Regions from separate parts of the Homo sapiens genome. Here region 2 is linked to region 1. Evidence: promoter capture Hi-C in human tissues and cell types (Jung and others, 2019). All regions are on one chromosome and are shown on one strand. Each heading gives the region's core, a stretch centred on a gene start or on the middle of the fragment in contact. The rest is flanking DNA. Distances are from core to core; before and after follow the strand shown.

What was found. Contacts are between HindIII fragments. The study calls those that stand out against the background at their distance.
Region 2: a fragment that was not itself captured here is called in contact with the fragment with the promoter of HERC6 in region 1 in 1 of the 25 tissues and cell types used here (mesenchymal stem cells).

The regions. Positions count from the first base shown.
Region 1 is chr4:88,376,450-88,381,159 of GRCh38, forward strand. HERC6 (HECT and RLD domain containing E3 ubiquitin protein ligase family member 6) reads left to right here and starts at 2,403. Exons shown (of 23, transcript NM_017912.4): 1 at 2,403-2,671. The coding sequence starts at 2,473. RefSeq lists a silencer at 2,626-2,815 and an enhancer at 2,826-3,155. The HindIII fragment of the contact is 12,273 bases long and covers 1-4,710 here.
Region 2 is chr4:88,036,431-88,040,675 of GRCh38, forward strand. PKD2 (polycystin 2, transient receptor potential cation channel) reads left to right here. Exons shown (of 15, transcript NM_000297.4): 4 at 1,821-2,071. Among named protein-coding and RNA genes, the nearest start is that of PKD2, 31 kb to the left of the region's middle. The HindIII fragment of the contact is 3,387 bases long and covers 643-4,029 here.

The DNA of each region.
Region 1 (4,710 bases), core at 1,153-3,652:
ACTCCAGCCTGGGTGGCAAAGCGAGACTCTGTCTCAAAAAAAAATTTTTTTTTAAAGAAATAACTTAATTTGAGGGCTCAGTATCTTATGGTAATAATACCAAACTCCTACATTTTGTGCTTGAGAAAAGAAATAAACATTAAGAAATTACTATTCAGAAAAAGGTTATATTTGGTATACAGCAAAACAGAACCAGAAATACTAATACTATCCACTGACTCACTACTCATCAATCCAATTGTCCGACATACCCTTATTAGCATCTACCAAGTTCCAGGTACTCTTGAGGTAGAAAAATAAAGAACATTTGTTCTTCTCTTTAAAGAACTTGAAACATGGTCATGAAGAGTGGTGAATTGAAATTACATAAATAGGTTCTGTAATAGTTTCTTTTAAAAAAAAATCAATAATGCTGATGATGGCTAACATTATCAAAGTTACCAAATCTAAAAACCAGTGCTCAGCGGGACATGGTGGCCTATAATCACAGCACTTTGGAAGGCTGAGGTAGGCAGATCATCTGAGGTCAGGAGTTCAAGACCAGCCTGGGCAACATGATGAAACCCCATCTCTTCAAAAAATACAAAAGTTAGCTGGGCGTAGTGGCACGTGCCTGTAGTCCCGCTACTTGGGAGGCTAAGGCGGGAGGATTGCTTGAACCTGGGAGGCGGAGGTTGCTGTGAGTTGAGATCACGCCATTGCACTCCAGCCTGGGCATCAAGAGCGGAAACTCTATCTCAAACAAACAAACAAATAAATAAATAAAAATCAGTGCTCAATCCTTACCTTGCTCCACAAGAAATTGACAGAGTTGATCCTTCCTTTATTCGTTACTTGCTCTGTCTATAACTCCTCCTCCTGGTTTTCCTCCTATGATCAGTCCTCTAGCCTCTGCTATACTGTCACCACATTCACCCCCTGGGTGTTCTCATTCAGCCATCTGGCTTTAAGCATCACCTCTACACTGATGGCTCCCAATTTTCTGACTACACCCAAGCTTCTCTCTACAACTCCAAAACAGTTTATCCTATTGCCTTCTTGATTAACAAGCATCTTACAGTTATCATTACCAATCTGTATTCCAGACACACATAGCTTAAACCTGCACCTTCCTCAGGGTTTCCCAGTCCAGTAGAGTTTACCTTGGAGTAACCCCTAAAGCCAACCCTGGAGTAATCCCTAATCCCTTTTCTTCTTTCCCCCCAATTTCTAATCCATCATCAAATCTGTGGACTCTTACTTTCAAAACATGTCTTGAATCTAATAACTTCTCCTCTCTTCCCTTCTAGGATATCACCTGACCTGAACTCTGAAGTAGTCTCTGCTAACTGGCTTTCTGCTTCCATTTTTGTCCTATTATTTTTCACACAGCAGCCAGATGAATCTTTAAAAACTGAAGTCAGATCATGGCTCTTCTCTATTCAAAACCTTCCAACTGCTTCTTTTCATCCTCTGCCCTCAGGTGTGATCACGACTCATTCCCTCATTTCCCATGTCCCCTCAGCTCTCTGCACAAATATCACTTCATCAGAGAGATCTTCCCTAATATCATCTCAAATACCAGTGCCTTCCGCCTCCACCCTCTGGTTCCTGTTGTATTTTTCGTTGCCCCTTGATATTACACTATGTGTTTATCTGTTTATGTTCTCTTTCCCTCAGGAGAATGTAAACGCATCAAGAGGATCTTGTCTTTCACTAATTGTATTTTCAGGCGGGGCCCAGAGGCTCACGCCTGTAATCCCTGCACTTTGGAAAGCTGAGGGGTGGATCACTTGAGGTCAGGAGTTCGAGACCAGCCTGGCCAACATGGTGAAACCCCATCTTTACTAAAAATACAAAAATTAAGTCGGGCGTCGTGGCGCATGCCTGTAATCCCACCTACTCGGGAGGCCGAGGCAAGAGAATCAGCTTGAACCCGTGAGGTGGAGGTTGCAGTGAGCCGAGATGGTGCCACTGCACTCCAGCCTGAGCAGCAGAGCGACACTCCATCTCAAACAAACAAACAAACAAACAAACAAAAAACAAACATATTTTCAATGCCAAAAAAGGTCTGGAATGAGGTGGGCACTCAGATGCTTTATTAACCACTCTAGGTATTATTCTAACACTTTATGTGCCTATTAAATTATCCCGACATATTAGATTTGCTGAATTGCAGTCCATATTTCGTAGATATGATAGCTGAAGCACGGAATCATTAGGTAACTTGCCCAAAGTGGCATTCACGACTCATAAATGGCTTAGGATGTAAACTCAGTTTTATTCCCTGGGACGCCCTCTCTGCTCTTCAGCACTTGAAGTTCAGGCAGCGAGAGTTGACATGGGGCCAGGGCTGCGCCCCTGGGGCGGGTTGAAGACAGGGTGAGTCTCTTGATATTCAGGAAATCATCGCGCACCCAGTCACCAGCGTTCGGGAGCCTGTCGCAGCGGGACCGACGGAATCCGGAGCAGGCGACAGGGCGCAGAAGCGGGATGTACTTCTGTTGGGGCGCCGACTCCAGGGAGCTGCAGCGCCGGAGGACGGCGGGCAGCCCCGGGGCTGAGCTACTGCAGGCGGCCAGCGGGGAGCGCCACTCTCTGCTGCTGCTGACCAACCACAGGGTCCTCTCGTGCGGAGACAACAGCAGGGGTCAGCTGGGCCGCAGGGGCGCGCAGCGCGGGGAGCTGCCAGGTGAGCGGGGGGCCCCAGGTGCAGGGTGTGAGGACCCCAGTACATGGGCGCGGGGGCTTGGGTACCGGGCGCAGGGAACCGGGTGCGGAGCGCTGGGACCCGGGTGAGGGGCGCGGGGGCCCAGGTGCAGGGAGCGGCTCAGATGCTGGGCGCCGCGGGCCAGGCAGGGAGGGGTGCTGGGAGCCTTGGATTCCTCGGGGCCCGAAGAGCCACAGGAACCAGGAAAATGGTGCCCTGTGCTACCGAAGAGCAACTTCCTCAGTTTCGTTTTCCCAACGCCCCTCGGATTTGTTTCGGTTTCCAATTCAAGTTCAAAGCGAAACTGAGAGCCGAAACTAACCTGGTCAGCGCTGCTCTGGAAAGAGATGTGGTCCCTCCGGCTTGCCTTGCAGATAAATCCTCGCCTGCGCGGTTCTACCTGGAGAAGGCAGCCTGACCTTACAAACGTGGTTTGTGGGTCAGACACCTGTATCTCCCTTAGAAATACACTGGGGCATTAAAAAATATATATATATAAAAATATATATATAAAATATATAAATATATATAATATATAAATATATACAAATATATAATATATAAATATATAATATATAAATATATATAATATATAAATATATAAATATATAACATATAAATATATATAATATATAAATATATATATAACATATAAATATATATAATATATAAATATATATATAACATATAAATATATATAATATATAAATATATATATAGCATATAAATATATATAATATATAAATATATATATAATATATAAATATATATAATATATAAATATATATAATATATAAATATATATATAATATATAAATATATATAATATATAAATATATATAATATATAAATATATATATAATATATAAATATATATAATATATAAATATATATAATATATAAATATATATATAATATATAAATATATATAATATATAAATATATATAATATATAAATATATATATAATATATAAATATATATAATATATAAATATATATAATATATAAATATATATAATATATAAATATATATATAATATATAAATATATATATAATATAAATATATATATAATATATAAATATATAATATATAAATATATATAATATATAAATATATAATATATAAATATATATAATATATAAATATATAATATATAAATATATATATAATATATAAATATATATATAATATATAAATATATATATAATATAAATATATATATAATATATAAATATATATATATAATATATAAATATATATATATAATATATAAATATATATATATACACATAATAGGCCGGACGCGGTGGCTTACGCCTGTGATCCCAGCACTTTGGGAGGCCGAGGCGGGCGGAGCACGAGGTCAGGAAATCGAGACCACCCTGGCCAATATGATGAAACCCCATCTCTACTAAAATACAAAAAATAAACTGGGCGTGGTGGCGGGCGCCTGTAGTCCCAGCTACTTGGGAGGCTGAGGCAGGGGAATCGCTTGAACCCGGGAGGCAGAGGTTGCAGTGAGCCGAAATCGCGACACTGCACTCCAGCCTGGCAACAGAGCAAGACTCTGTCTCAAAAAACATAATAATAATAAATATATATATTATATATGTGAGATAATACAATAATCGTTATGGATTATTGTAGAAATACGAGAAAGCAATCACCGTAGCTCCAACACCCAAAGATAACTCCTAACATTTTGATGCATTTTCTCCTTGTCTACTTTTTTCTATGTACATATTTAATCTTTATAAAAATCATGTCATTATAGATTTGTATATGCAGTATTTATGCAACTCTGTACATTGTGTTTTCATCAAGCATAATCTTATGAACATATTACCCTTTCATTTTGTATGTTTTGAAAATATGTTTTAAATTGCTGCATAACATTCTAAACTCTGAGAGTACCATAATTATTCTCTTTTTGTGGAAATTAGATTGTTTCCCACTAGGGGCTTTTATAAATAATACTGATTGATATTCTCGTAAGCAAATATTTGACTACATTTTTG
Region 2 (4,245 bases), core at 1,086-3,585, 340 kb before region 1:
TATCGACAGGACCTGCTTTGCATTTAACACTGTGTGAGACGTAAGTTATGGTGAGTTGTTAGAAGTTACTGTTCCTACTCTCAAAGGGGGTAAACTAACATTGAGAACTTTGCCTGTGCCTTGCACTGTGCTGAGTGTTTCATATCTTACCTTATTTAATTTCTATAGTCTAACTCTATAAGGTAAGTACTAAGACTATGCCCTAGTTTGTTAATGAGGAAAATGAGATTCAGGATGTTTAAATGCGTATGGTCACATGGCTAGGGAACAAGAAAAATTGATTTTTTTCTAGCCTGACAGCTACTTCATCCTAGTTTGTAATTCATTCCATGAGTCAAGATTCAATAAATATTTATTGAGAATCTCCTAGAATGTAAGGCCAATGAAGGGCAGTGTGGTTCTTCTGTCTTGCTTCGCCTTTTGTGTTTTGTCTCTTTGTTGATGATGGCATGTATCCCCAGCTCTTAGAACAGTGCTTGATTCAAAGTAAGCACATTCTTTCAAAGGTCTGCTGTTGGTGGGGCTTGGTGGCTCACGCCTGTAATCCCAGCACTTTGGGAGGCCAAGGCAGGAGGATTGCTTTAGCCCAGGATTTTGAAACCAGCTGGGCACAACATAGTATGACTTTGTCTCTCCAAAAAAGTTAAAGAATTAGCAGGGTGTGGTGGTACACACCTGCAGTCCCAGCTACTCAGGAGGCTGAGGTGGGAGAATCACTTGAGCGATTGCTTGAGGTCAAGGCTGCAGTGAGCCATGGCCATGCTACTGCATTCCAGCTGGGGCAACAGAGTGAGACCCTTTCTCAAAAAAAATCCCCCCCAAAAAAAAACCCAAAAACAAACAAAAAAGGTCTGCTGTTGTGAAGTTCAACCCAATCCAGCCCCTTCCCAAGTTGTCACAAATTCCAACGTAGTTAACAGTATACCAATGAGTGATACCACAGGAAAAATATTAAACTGATCTGAGGGATATGGGGCTTGGAATCTAAGAAAATTGGAAGGGAAATTGAAAAGGAAATTATTATTTCTCCTTGGGGAGATAGTTTCTAAAATTCTTACTACACCCTGGGGTCAGAGCTGTTGATTTTAAGGATAGAGACAACTGAGTCACAGGAAACTATTCATATATAAAAGTACCTGGCATCCAAAACCACACTTGTATAATATGAATCTTTCACCATCTGAGTAGGGCAAATCAGTCTATCTCTGTTGATCATCTGACAAGGATAGCACACTGAGAAATAGATCTGTCTTCCCTACAGGCATAGCTAGTTGTACAAACTAACAAGAGACTTTTGTATACACATTCCATGATGATAAATGCCAATCACTAAAGGGACGAGGAGGGATTGGAGAGTTCACCATACAGCAAAATAGTCCAGACAGGTGAAAGGTCTATCAAATGCCAGGCTGGTAATCAAAACTGTAGCCTTTTCTCTAAACAAAGTTTAGAACCATGATTGTGTGGGACATTATTTTAATAAGGGAAAGTGCAGTTAATCATGACCCCACCTTTAGTCCAAGAACAAAAATCAGAGCTGCCACGTATTAAGTACCCACTCTGTGCCAGGTGCAGTAACTATGCAAAAGATGGGTTTTCCAGATGCAAGAACCTTGGTTCAGAGGACCCTGCTCAAGGCCTCATAGCTAACAAATGATGGGGCAAGATGCTATCCCAAATCTCTCTGACAACAAAACTCATTCTTATCACTCTACTATTTTCATAGAGTTGCCAAATGCTTGGTTATGCAAACGATGCAGGCAGGGGCAAGACAGCGGCTGAGCTTGGAACTTTTTCAGAGATGTTTCCTTTGCTTTTAGTTCACAGAAGGCTCCTTATTGGATGGGCTGTACTGGAAGATGCAGCCCAGCAACCAGACTGAAGCTGACAACCGAAGTTTCATCTTCTATGAGAACCTGCTGTTAGGGGTTCCACGAATACGGCAACTCCGAGTCAGAAATGGATCCTGCTCTATCCCCCAGGACTTGAGAGATGAAATTAAAGAGTGCTATGATGTCTACTCTGTCAGTAGTGAAGATAGGGCTCCCTTTGGGCCCCGAAATGGAACCGCGTAAGTGTCTGTGACTCATTGCCACTCGGTGATATTCATTCATTTATTCTCTGAACTCCCACCATTCATTCATTCATTCCCTGACACCTTCACCAAGGCAAAAATAAGTTCAGTGACTCTTCAGTGCTTATATTTAAACCTTGGCCAACTTGACCTTTGACTTCTTAAGTTTTCACTACTTCTTAGCCTTCTTTTAGTTTCTACATGCATATTTTTCAGAAGACTAAATCGTTGACCATATAACCCCTCAAAAATTAATTATCTGAGCGTTTGAAAATTTCATTTAAGATGCCCTGGGCCCTGTTTTTACAGGTGCAGTAACATCATCCACTAAGTTATTTAACACAAGTTTTCTGGTTCAGGAACTCTTTTTATAGGTCTTGCAAACAGGTTTTTGTTCAGAATGGAGTTATTTAATGTGTAAGCTTGTGAGGCAATTTTTTGTTAGGTTTAAAGCCCATTTTGTTCAAATGTTTGAGATTTTAGGTATATATTTGTACACGTGCATATTTACAGGGGCTTTTTGTACACTTTGGTACTCCTACTTCAAACATCTTGTGTATTAAGGGAGGTCACTTACTATTTTAGAAGTATTGTAGTTATTATAAAGAAACAAGAAGACCTCCAAGGCCGTTTCAGGGTGGGCCTTTGCGGTTGCTGTCCCTGGGTACGTCACTGGTCGGAGTCATCTTCTAAGCTTTGCTCAGCTAATTCTGTCGGTTCATCTAGGTTCTTTTCTTGGAAACTGAGTTGCCCAGAATCCACATTTGTTACTATACAATGGGCAATCACCTTTTCAATTAGTATATTCTTCTTGTACCTTCCAGTATACACTCTATTTAATACCAGAACCCATAAGAAACAAATTTAGTAAAAATCCAGGTTGGGCACAGTTTCTCATGCCTGTAATCCCAGCACTTTGGAAAGCCAAGGCGGACAGATCACTTGAGGTCAGGAGTTCAAGACCAGCCTAGCCAACATGGTGAAACCCTGACTCTACTAAAAATACAAAAATTAGCTGGGTGTGGTGACATGTGCCTATAGTCACAGCTATTCGGGAGGCTGAGGCAGGAGAATTGCTTGAGCCCGAGTGGTGGGGGTTGCAGTGAGCTGAGGTCTCATCATTGCACTCCAGCCTGGGCAACAGAGCAAGACTCCCCCTCAAAAAAAAAAAAAAACAAATTTAGTGAAAATCCAGAGCTTTAGAACAAAGGAACTAAATAGTCTCAAAGGACATTATCATCCAAGTTATGATAGTGATTTCGCTTTCTTTAAAAAAAAAATTATTACAGATAGAGTTTCTTGATGTTGCCCAGGCTGGCCTCAAACTCCTGGGCTCAAGCAGTCCTCCAGCCTCAGCCTCCCAAGTAGCTGGGACTATGAGAATATGCCACCATGCCCAGCTTTATTTTGCTTTCTAATGTGCCTTTTTGTAGTTCCTGCAAAGCATAAGCATGCCTTCATCTGTGGTACCCTTTCCAATATTTTATTTATCTCACATCACTAATAAGATAAATTTATACAGCCACTGCTCTGTGCCAGACATTATTTAAGAAGTTATTTCACGCATTATCTCATCTGCCTTCACAAAACAACTCTAAAATAGGTATCACCTCCATTTTATAGATGAAAAAACTGAGGCTCACTTGCCCAAAGTGTCACAGCTAACAAATTGGACTGAACCAAGATTTAAGCAGCCTGACTCCAAAACCCATGTTTCGCCTACTAAACCTCTTCCATATTAATTCCTCCTCCATATTAATTGCGTCGTTAGGGTGGCTTGTCGACGCTCTCAGCTCCCCATCAGTACTCAAGCTTCCTGAGGGCAGGGATTCTATTTTGTTAACTGCTGTATTCTCAAAGCCTTGAACAATGCCTCATATGTAAAGATACTAATAAATATGTGCTGGATGCATTCGAGTGATTTCTACTCCAGGGTGGATTGCCAAAGGGGACCTTCCCTGTCATATCTAAACTATCCTTTTATTCTTCTACATTCTCAAGTCACTCCCATTTCTTCTTCCCTTCAACTCCAAACTTCTTGGAAGAATAGTCTTCATTTGCCACTTCCATTTCCTTACCATCAATTCACGTCTTAAAGCTTAGGTTCTTGCTTTTGACATCTCACCAGGAAGCTACTAGGGACCTCTAGTTAGCAAATCCACTGAACAAAT